Regions from separate parts of the Homo sapiens genome. Here regions 2 and 3 are each linked to region 1. Evidence: promoter capture Hi-C in 16 types of primary human blood cells and fetal thymus (Javierre and others, 2016). All regions are on one chromosome and are shown on one strand. The core of a region is centred on a gene start or on the middle of the fragment in contact, and the rest is flanking DNA. Distances in the headings are between cores, read along the strand shown.

Evidence for each region. Contacts are between HindIII fragments. The CHiCAGO score rates a contact against its expected background, and 5 or more counts as called.
Region 2: a contact is called between a fragment that was not itself captured here and the fragment with the promoter of NDUFC2 in region 1, in 1 of 17 cell types (total CD8 T cells). The highest score is 5.5, in total CD8 T cells.
Region 3: a contact is called between a fragment that was not itself captured here and the fragment with the promoter of NDUFC2 in region 1, in 3 of 17 cell types (M2 macrophages, non-activated CD4 T cells and naive CD8 T cells). The highest score is 5.9, in M2 macrophages.

What each region holds. Positions count from the first base shown.
Region 1 is chr11:78,078,607-78,081,879 of GRCh38, forward strand. It overlaps NDUFC2 (NADH:ubiquinone oxidoreductase subunit C2), which reads right to left and starts at 1,256. Exons shown (of 3, transcript NM_004549.6): 1 at 973-1,256. The coding sequence starts at 1,138. It overlaps NDUFC2-KCTD14 (NDUFC2-KCTD14 readthrough), which reads right to left and starts at 1,256. Exons shown (of 3, transcript NM_001203262.2): 1 at 973-1,256. The coding sequence starts at 1,138. It overlaps LOC105369401 (a long non-coding RNA gene), which reads left to right and starts at 2,589. Exons shown (of 3, transcript XR_950342.2): 1 at 2,589-2,835. RefSeq lists an enhancer at 976-1,035 and a silencer at 1,239-1,428. The HindIII fragment of the contact is 4,740 bases long and covers 1-3,273 here.
Region 2 is chr11:77,809,343-77,812,832 of GRCh38, forward strand. All of the region lies in intron 1 of RSF1 (remodeling and spacing factor 1), which reads right to left. Among named protein-coding and RNA genes, the nearest start is that of RSF1, 9.6 kb to the right of the region's middle. The HindIII fragment of the contact is 1,997 bases long and covers 1,064-3,060 here.
Region 3 is chr11:78,347,646-78,351,016 of GRCh38, forward strand. All of the region lies in intron 1 of GAB2 (GRB2 associated binding protein 2), which reads right to left. Among named protein-coding and RNA genes, the nearest start is that of GAB2, 68 kb to the right of the region's middle. The HindIII fragment of the contact is 3,231 bases long and covers 134-3,364 here.

The sequences.
Region 1 (3,273 bases), core at 6-2,505:
AGTACAGCACACTGGTTTAGAGCCTCCTATTCAAACCGTGGTCCTCAGACCAGCAGCAGCAGTGTTTGAGCGCTTGTTGTTAACATCAAGTTCCTCCCCAGACCTCATGAATCAGGATCCGCTTTTTTTTTTTTTTTGAGACAGGGTCTCACTTTGTTGCACAGGTTGGAGTGCAATGGTGCAATCTCGGCTTACTGCAACCTCTGCCTTCCAGGCTCAAACGACCCTCCTGCCTCAGCCTCCCTCAGCCTGGGACCACAGGCGTGCACCACCACGCCCGGCTAACTTTTGTATTTTTTTGTAGGGACGGGTTTTCGCCCTATTGCCCATACTGGTATCGAATTCCTGAGCTCAGGCGATCCGCCCGCCACGGCCTCCCAAGGCGCTGGGATTACAGGTGTGAGCCACCTCGCGCAGCCCAGAATCCGAATTTTAACAAGACACCTATGCTATTCGTATGCACATTAAGTTTGAGAAGCACTGGTGTCCAATATCCATTCAGAGGTCAAAAAAAAAAAAAACCAAGCTCTGCTACTTAATAGCCATATGACCTTGGGCAAGCTGCTGTTAATCTGTTAGGCTCGGTTTCCTCGTTGTGAATAATACATCCCTAAAAGTGTTTTAAGGCCGAAATGCTATCAATAATGCCCACAGTGTGAGTAGTGCATGGCATGGAGTCATGGCTCATTTGCGCACACAGCACAACACGAACTGAGGAGAGTAGTTTCGGGTCCTTCACAGACTCAGTTCCTGCTTCACTGCACCTCAGTTTCTTCAAGTGCCAAATGACACTCTGGCTCTGCTTGATTCTAAAGAGCTAATGGGGCGCGGACTCCCCGGAAAGGCGAGATGGGGCCAGCTAGGCAAAAAGGCACGGAAAAGCAGAGCACCTCAGGGGGGCCTACGGCCGGGCCAGTCTGCAGCCCTACGACCCCTTCTCCTCCCAGCCGATCCCGGCCGCGCAGCACTCACCAGCCGTCGCGATCGGCCTCCGCCGGATTAGGTTATCAATCAGGCCGGAGCAGTAGCCCAAGAAGCCGATGTAGAGGAGCCGCGGGTCGGTCAGCTTGGGCGGGGGCAGGCTCCGGGCCTCATCCGGCAGAAACCGTAAGGGTTCTGGGTTCCGCCGTGCGATCATGGTGACGCCGTTTCCACTTGAGGCCTGGTCTCAGACCACGAACTACAAGGAAAACCACGACGACCACTACCCCGGCCTAAGCGGTCAGCTTTCTCCTCCTCCTCTGCGCGCCGGACTCACGGGCACGGCGCAGCGCGGTGCAGCGCCCAAACGCTTCCCGGTACGTGTTGCTGCGGGAACCCGGCACGCGAAGTTCCGGGCTACTAAGTTTCACTTTGCTCGTCCGCCCGCGCTAATTCTCTGGTGGGAGTGGGATTCACGGGCCTGGTAACGCGGGGTCGAGGAGTACCCCAAACGAGCCAAACTGGGCGAAGACTAGGAGATACTGATTTTCTTTTCTCCCAACTTCCCCAACCAGAATTGCCTCTCCCTCCCCTGCCCCTTCTGGAAAGATTTATCTTTTCATCCAATACCCACAAATGGGCATGATGCGTAGTTTTGATAAACGTAATTAATTGAAATTCCATAAAAGCTAGTTTTCGTTTTCTGAGTTTTCAGTCGTTCATTCGCATAGACACTCCCTCCAAAGCCTAAAATTAAGGTCTGGCCAGCAACAAAAGAATTTAGAGAAGCCCAGGACTGGATCGTTTTAGTCTATTGTTGAAATTCAGATTCGGAGGCAGCACCCTAAAATGTTTCACCTCTGGGTCTTCACGTCGTTACACATGGCTGAGTGAGGAGGTGTTCCCTAAAGGTTTGAGTAATGAGGCCAGGCGCCGTCACTCACGCCTGTAATCCCATCACTTTGGGAGGCTGAAGTGAGCGGATCACTTCAGGAGTTCAAGACCAGCTTGGCCAACATGGTGAAATCCCATCTCTACGAAAAATACAAAAAATTAGCTGGGCGTGGTGGCGGGTGCCTGTAGTCCCAGCTACTGGGAAGGCTGAGGCAGCATAATCGGCTGCTCGGGAAGCTGAGGGGGGAGAATCGCTTGAACCTGGGAGGTGGAGGTTGCAGTGAGCCGAGATCGCACCATTGCATTCCAGCCTGGTCAACAAGAGCGAAACTTCGTCTCAAAAAGAAAAAAAAAAAGGTTTGAGTAATGAAAGAAGGAATTTATAATTCTGTTAAGCAATTTTCCAGTCTCTGCTGTCAGGCCTCTCAGCCGAAGCTCAACCATTGTAACCCCTGTGACTTGCACATATGCGTCCAGATGGCCTGCGGGAGCCAAGAAGTCTGGGGCAGCCAAAAACCCACAAAAGAAGTAAAACAGCCACTTCCTGCCTTAACTGATTAACAAACATTCCACCATTGTGACTGGTCCCTGCCCTACCTTAACTGATCAACCATCCTTGTGACATTCTTCTTCTGGACAATAAGTCTTATGATCTCCCCATCATGTACCTTGTGACCCCCTCCCCTGCTAACAATAGATAACAACCACCTTTTACTGTAATTTTCCATTACCTACCTAAATCCTATAAAGCAACCCCTTCCCCATCTCCCTTCATTGATTCTCTTTTCGGACTCAGCCCACTTGCACCCAAGTGAATAAACAGCCTTGTTGCTCACACAAAGCCTGTTGGTGGTCTCTTCACACGGATGCATTTGACATTTGGTGCTATGACTTGGATCGGGGGACCTTCCTTGGGAGATCAATCCCCTGTCCTCCCGCTCTTTGCTCCGTGAGGAAGATCTACCTACGACCTCGGGTCCTCAGACCAGCCCAAGGAACATCTCACCAATTTTAAATCGGGTAAGTGGCCTCTTTCTACTCTCTTCTTCAACCTCTTTCACTATCCCTCAACCTCTTTCTCCTTTCAATTTCGGCACCACCCTTCAGTCTCTCCCTTCCCTTAATTTCGGTTCCTTTCCCTGTCTGGTAGAGACAGAGGAGACCCGTTTTATCTGTGGACCCAAAACTCTGGCGCTGGTCATGGACTCGGGAAGACTGTCTTCCCTTGTGTTTAGTCACTGCAGGGACGCCTGCCTGATTATTCACCCACATTTCAGAGGTGTTCGATCACTGCGGGGACACCTGTTTTGATCTTCCACCTTGGTGGCAAGTACCACTTCCCCTGGGTGGCAAGTACCACCCCCCCTCTCTCCATGTCTCAACCTCCTCCTTTCTCTAAACTTACCTTTTTACTATGGGCAACCTTCAGCCCTCCATTCCTTCTTCTTCCTCTCTTAG
Region 2 (3,490 bases), core at 812-3,311, 270 kb before region 1:
CATGCATACTACAAAGCCCCTTATTTTTGCATTTTTGTAATCTATTTTTCTACGAAAGATAAGAATGGAGAAGATAATTAAGGTTTAAAGGGGAAGTCCAAAATACAGGAAAATAGGACACTAAAGGAGTGAGATATAGTTATCATGGTGAATACAACTAGGTAATAATAGAAGATAGGGTATAAAATGAAAAGGCCATGAGGCAAAAAGATAGCAAGGAGAAACCAGTTGACCACAGTCAAAATTCATAGGACAAAAAACCTCTAAAATGAGGATTATGGAATGTCTGAATTCAGATGCCAGACCAAGTTAGTGCTGCTGTAGATGGTTTATTTATGGTTCTGATAAACTGGAGGTTGGCAAGACTTTAATGGGAATATAAAGTAAGCTCCATTATACTTCTGATTAATCAAAGTTTTCCAATATTACCATATTGCTATATCCCCAAACTCCAAATACCAAAAGCAAGTTAGAATGGATTATTTGGAATAACTCATTCTACCTAATTTTCTTTTCCTAAAACACTTTTAACATCTAAACATTGAAGAAGTGGCAATTATATTTATTTGCAGAGCCAACTGTGAAGATGCTAAGGACAAAAGGAAAAGAGTAAGTATCAAACTCCCTGAGATATCTAGCATAACACATGCCTAAGCTTCATAACCAGTACTGCACTTTTGCTGCAAAATACACTGATGACCAAGGCATTTAATCCCACTTACTAGTAAGCTATTATCTAGTACATTCTTTCCCAGTCCTGTGTCCTCTAAGTAACCTAAGTAAATCTTTTAAGTTCTACCTTTAATAACTACATCCTTTCCCATCTGAGTACACGGCATCACCATTCATCCAACCTTACCCTCCCCTAATCAGTCCACTTGGATAAGACTTTGAGGCCAGTATAGCAGCAATGTTACAACAACTCTTACCCTCACTACCAATTACCATGTCACATGGCTCCCATCCTGGCATTGCCTTATGACAATTAGGCAGAGGTAGCCATGGCTACTCTTGAATGAAAGAAATTTAGTTCAATATAATGTCATCACCTTGTTAACAAAAAAGCTTTTAGACTCACCTAACCCAAGAGGAGTAATTAATACTAAAACAGTTGGATGTAAAATTAGATCAATACTGGGGAGACTACTGTTCCACTAAGTTTCATTCACAGGACATTCTAGGCATTTAATTTGTATTATATTGGTTCCTTTTTATTTTTATTTTTTGGGGGGGAGATGGGTGGAGTCTCCCTCTGTTGCCCAGATTGGAGTGCAATGGCATAATCATGGCTCACTGTAATCTCTGCCTCCTGGGTTCAAGCAATTGTTGTGTGGCAGCCTCCTAGGTAGCTGGGATTACAGGTGTATCCCACCACATCCAACTAATTTGTATTTTTAATAGAGACCAGGTTTCACCATGTTGGCGAGGCTGGAAATTTGTATTATACTGGTTCTAAATGTATTTTCAAAAACAGAGATCATCATCTGATAAGACTTCCATCTTCATACACTGGAATAAAGATCAGTAAATTTTTTTCTGTAAAGGGCTAGACAGATAATAAGTTCTTCAGGTTTTGGGTTTTGTTTTTTTCTGAGACAGGGTCTTGCTGTTTCACCCAGGCTGGAGTGCAGTGGCATGATCAGCCTCAACCTCTGGGACTCAGACAATCCTCCGAAAGTGCTTGGATTGCAGTATGAGCCACCATACCCAGCCCAATACTTTAGGTTTTGAAGTTATATGTTCTCTGTGACCATCACTCAACTCTGCCACAGTTGTGTGAAAGCAGCTACAGACAACAGAATGTAAACAAATGAACATGGCTGTATACCAGTAAAACCTTATTTACAAAGATAGAGAGGACAGGCTGTAGATTGCCCACCACTGTACTAAGCTATCACAGACTAGGCTTTAACTTCAAAGTTTTAGAGCAGAACATGGTCCTATAGTAAGTTGAGGAAAACTATTAATTCCACAAACATTTACTACATATTTGCTATTACCCACCAATTGCTGGTGATAAAATAAAGTAAGAAACCCTGTCCTCAAAGAGTTTACCATCTTGTAGGCTAGGCAGTAACTGCAAAAAGTGTTATGAGTACTGTGGCATAAAATCTACAAAGTGTACGTGCAGGGTAAGGAGATTGAAGTGGTTAATTTAACTTGAGAGACAGAAAGAAGGAAATTTTCCACAGAGCATTTGATGCTTAAAGAGCAGACTAATGACGGGTACAGTGAGCAGGCAAGGGAAGGAAGATGGGGATGGTATATTCGACTCAGAGGCAGGAGGACGAAGAAAAAGCATAAATGTAAAACAACCTTTCACATCTTCAGAGATGTAAAAGCAGTTTGGCGTGATTAAAACTAGCAATGAGAACAGAAAAGCAAGGTTGAATATAAAAGGGGATAAACAGACTCAATATAACTTGGTATCAAAGAAAGTGTCAGAGGCTAAGGTCTAGGATGCCTCCTTGGTTTCTGATCTGAGTGACTTGGGTAGATGATAGTAACATTCATTTAAGAGGTAATTCAAGATTAAGAATAAATAAATAGGCTGAGCTTGGTGGCTCACGCCTGTAATCCCAGCACTTGGGGAGGCTGAGTCAGGTGGATTGCTTGAGCCCAGGAGTTTGAGACCAGCCTGGGCAACATAATGAAACTCTGTCTCTACTAAAAATACAAAAAATTTTTAGCTGGGTGTGGTGGCACATGCCTGTAGTCCCCAGCAACTTGAGAGGCTGAAATGGGAGGATCGCCTGAGTCTGGGAGGTAGAGGTTGCAGTCAGCAGAGAACAAGCCACTGCACTCCAGCCTGGGTGACAGAGTGAGACCCTGTCTATAAAAATAAGAGTACATAAATACAAGCAGAAATTCAATTTTCCTTTTAAAAAGCCTCTTTAGAAATCTAGTTTTAAATAGTTTTTTGGTGATTATCAAAGAAATGCACAATTAACATAGAAAATGAAATGTGAAAAAATATAAGAAAAACCAAAGGGAAAAAACTGTATAATCCTACTATTCAGAAAATGATTAAGATAAACATGTACAAATACTGGAGAATAAAGCTTAGAGTCTAAAATTAAATACAGACTCAACCTCCACTACGAAAGCTTTCTGGAGGAACTCTTGCTTACATGAGCCATATATACATTATATACTTCATGTTGCTCTTCAAGCAATCCTTGTTCAACTACAGGAGGCTGAAGCCTGGTCTGTCTGCTGTCAAGTTTTGCCCTCATGCTCTTCTTTCTTAAAATCAGTTTGGGCTGGATGTGGTGGCTCATGCCTGTAATCCCAGCACTTTGGGAGGCCGGGGCAGGCAGATCACTTGAGGTCAGGAGTTTTTGAGACCAGCCTGGCCAACATGGCGAAACCCCATCTCTACTAAGAATGCAAAAAAATTAGCTGGGCGTGGTGGCGGGCACCTGTAGTCCCAGCTACTCAGGAGGCTGAAGCAGGAGAATCACTTGAACCCAGGAGGCAGAGGTTGCAG
Region 3 (3,371 bases), core at 499-2,998, 270 kb after region 1:
TTATAGACCTAAATGTAAAAGCTAAAACATCTCCTACAAGAAAACATAGGAGAAAAATCTTTGTGACCTTTAAGTAAACAAAAAGCATAAATCATAAAAGAAAAACTGAAAACTAAGCTTCATCAAAATTCAAAGCTTTTGTTCCTCAAATGATACAATTAAGAGAAGGAAAGGGCATGACACAAACTGGGAGAACATACAGTTGAACCTTGAACAACATGGGGGTTAGGGGATGGCTCCCTCCCATGCAGTCAAAAATCCATGTACAACTTTTGACTCCCCTGAAACTTAACTACTATAAACAGTGGAATAACACATACTTAGTATGTTATATATTATATATTGCATTTTTACAGTAAAGATAGAGAAAAAAATCATAAGGAAGATTAAAATGTATTTAGTATTGATTAAGTGGAAGTGGATCATCATAAAGGTCTTTATCTTCATCTTGACATTGAGTAGGCTGAGGAGAAAGAGGAAAAGAAGAGGTTAGACTTGCTGTCTCAGCAGTGACAGAAGCAGAAGAGGTAGAAGGGGAGGAAGGGGAGGCAGGAGAGGCAAGCACACTCAGTGTCACTTTTACTGAAAAGAATCCAAGTATAAATGGACCCATGCAGTTCAAGCCCATTTTGTTCAAGGATCAGTTGTATTCACATGTTTTCACAGATTGAAGGAAATGTTTAATATATTTCTATCTTACAAAGAACTGGTATCCAGATCATAAAAGGAACTTGTACAACTCAGTAAGAAGATAAATGACACAATTTTTTAAATGGGCAAAAGATTTGAACAGATACTAGACAAAAGAAGATAGTATACAAAATGCCAGTTGGCACATGGTGCTCAACATCACTAGACATCAGGGAAACAAATGAAAACCACAATGAATACCATGACCTATAAACCCATTAGAATGACTAAAATTAAAAAGGCTGATCACACTAAGTGCTTCTGAGATTGTAAAGCAACTGGAAATCACATACACTGTTGATAGGAAAGTAAAACAATACAGTTTGGAAGTTTCTCAAAAAGTTTAACACGTATCTACCATATGACTGAGCCATTCAACTGCTGGGTATACCTGGGAGAAATGAAAATGTATGCTCCACAGAAAGATTTCCAAGTGAATGTTCATATCAGCTTTATTTAAAAGAGCCAGAAACAAGAAAGAACCCAATGTCCATCAATAGGTGGTATATCCACACAATGGAATACTACTCAGCAATAACATGGATACATGCAACAACATGGACACATCCAGAAATCACTATGCTGAGTGAAATAAGCTGCACAAAAAGTGTACATACTGTACTCCTATAAAATGCAAACTAATTTAGAGTGACAAAGAACAGAGGAGTGCTTGCCTGGGGCTAAGGGCAAAGGAAGGGAAAGACTGCAAAGGGGCAAGAGGAATCTTTTGGGGATGATGCCAATGTTCTACATCTTCAATGTAGTACTTGTTTCATGAGTACGGACAGACACCTATGAGACTCATTAAATGTACACAGATATAGTTCACTGTGTGTAAATTATCCTTTGAAGTTGATAAGGAAAAAAGTAATTTCCTTTGCCACTCCTGCTGCCACTGGAAACAAGTTAGCAAGCTACTACCTCCCATATCTCACGATCACTGGGAAAACAGGAAGCTGTATAGAAGTTGGTGAGAAAATGAGTGGTATTGCAAAAAACATTTGATTATTAATGAGGTGTCTGGTACTAAGTTACAAATCATCTTACTTAATTCTAACACTTTTGATGAGGTAGGCACTATTATCTCTATTACAGATGAGACAACAGGCTCAGAAAGTTTAAAGAACTCATTGAAAGTCACCCCGATGGTAAATGGTAGATTTGGATTCAACAATGTATGCTGGCATCAGACCAGATAAACTTACCTTCGAATGCTATTATTCCCTACAGTGCTTAGGGCATCCTCAGAAAGGAAAAGCCCTGATAGCCTAGGGACAAGAAGAGCTGCTAGAGATTTCCTTCATCAGGACTGAGAAATCCTCTCAAGTCAGGGAGTTTTTTTTCTTTTAAAAAATTTTTTTTAAGTCGGTGAGTTTTAGCAGCCTTTTTCAAAGCAGCTTGGGAGAGTGGGAGGTGGGGTACACCTCTGCTTCTGGAGCAGAGGAGAATCCTCTCACTTGGCTCCAGCATTTGCTGGTATTTTGTTAACTTTTGGCTCCTCCATGTTCACCCACCCACTGGTTTCCCAGAGTAAAAATGCCAAAATATCTTGGCTGAACAGGCGAATGGATCACAGATGACAGAGGTAAAAAAAAGAAAAAAAGAAAAAAAAAAGAAAGACAATCAAGAGGTTCTGTAATATGCTTCTTTTTAAAGGTAAAAGCAAATTGCACACGTCCTCATTCTTATTCTCTTTGAGTTGGCTGTCTTGTGAAACATTCTGTTGTCTATATTTTCATTCATCACATTGAAAAAAAAGTTAGGCAAATGGGTCATGCTGAAAGTTTAAGTAAATTTACCGTCTTCCTATTTCAGACCAGCTGTAGTCCATCTCCCCTGAAGCCTGGCCAACAGATCAAGGAGAACATGGCTTGAGCTGCAAAAACAGACCAGAGAGAGAAACCCTGGGAAACTAGGCTCTAGCGGGTAGCTCAGGAGGGGAACCCACACTGCAGAGGAAAAGTAAAGAGGCCTGGGTGCCGGGATTAACTCTAATCATCCGTGAGACTCTGGCAAGACATGCTCTCCCTCAGAACCTCCAAAGACTGGAGTGATCAGGTTTTTCAACTTTTAACAAAGGCCCAGCGTTTCTAACCAAATATAATCTCCCTAAACCCTCAGTTTCTCATGCACTTCCTCTTTGAGGATTGCTCTGCTGCCTGTTTATTCCTCAGAAACCAAGTTTCACTTTCTGAAATCTGTTATAAAGCCAGGCGACTTTTCATTGTTACACTATAAATTATGATACCAAATAAAAACTTCTAAAAAGTATATACAAGGATAATCTGAAATTCAGCCATAAGCCTGAGTGTGTGTCATTGAGAGTTAGGAACTAAATGCTCTAAAACAAACTGTGATGTTTTCTGGTTGTTCCTCATTTCCATTCCTGACTTAGCCTGAACTGCAATTTTACTAAAGCTCCTTTGCTTCCCCTTCACACACGTTAAGAATTCACCACAGGAACATGTGCTTTTGTGCTCATTGAACTAAAGCCTCCTCCCCAAACTATGCTCTGCCAAGTTGTTTCCGGTAAGCAACTTTGGAAAATAAAAATTCCCTAGACATTTTGAACAGTGGTTTGAGAGGAAGACACACAACCCGACAGGGGAACTGAAACATTCCCCCTTGTGTCCACTTCTGTCCTGGGAGGATGGGGGAAGGAAGTCGTGGAAGAAGCTTTT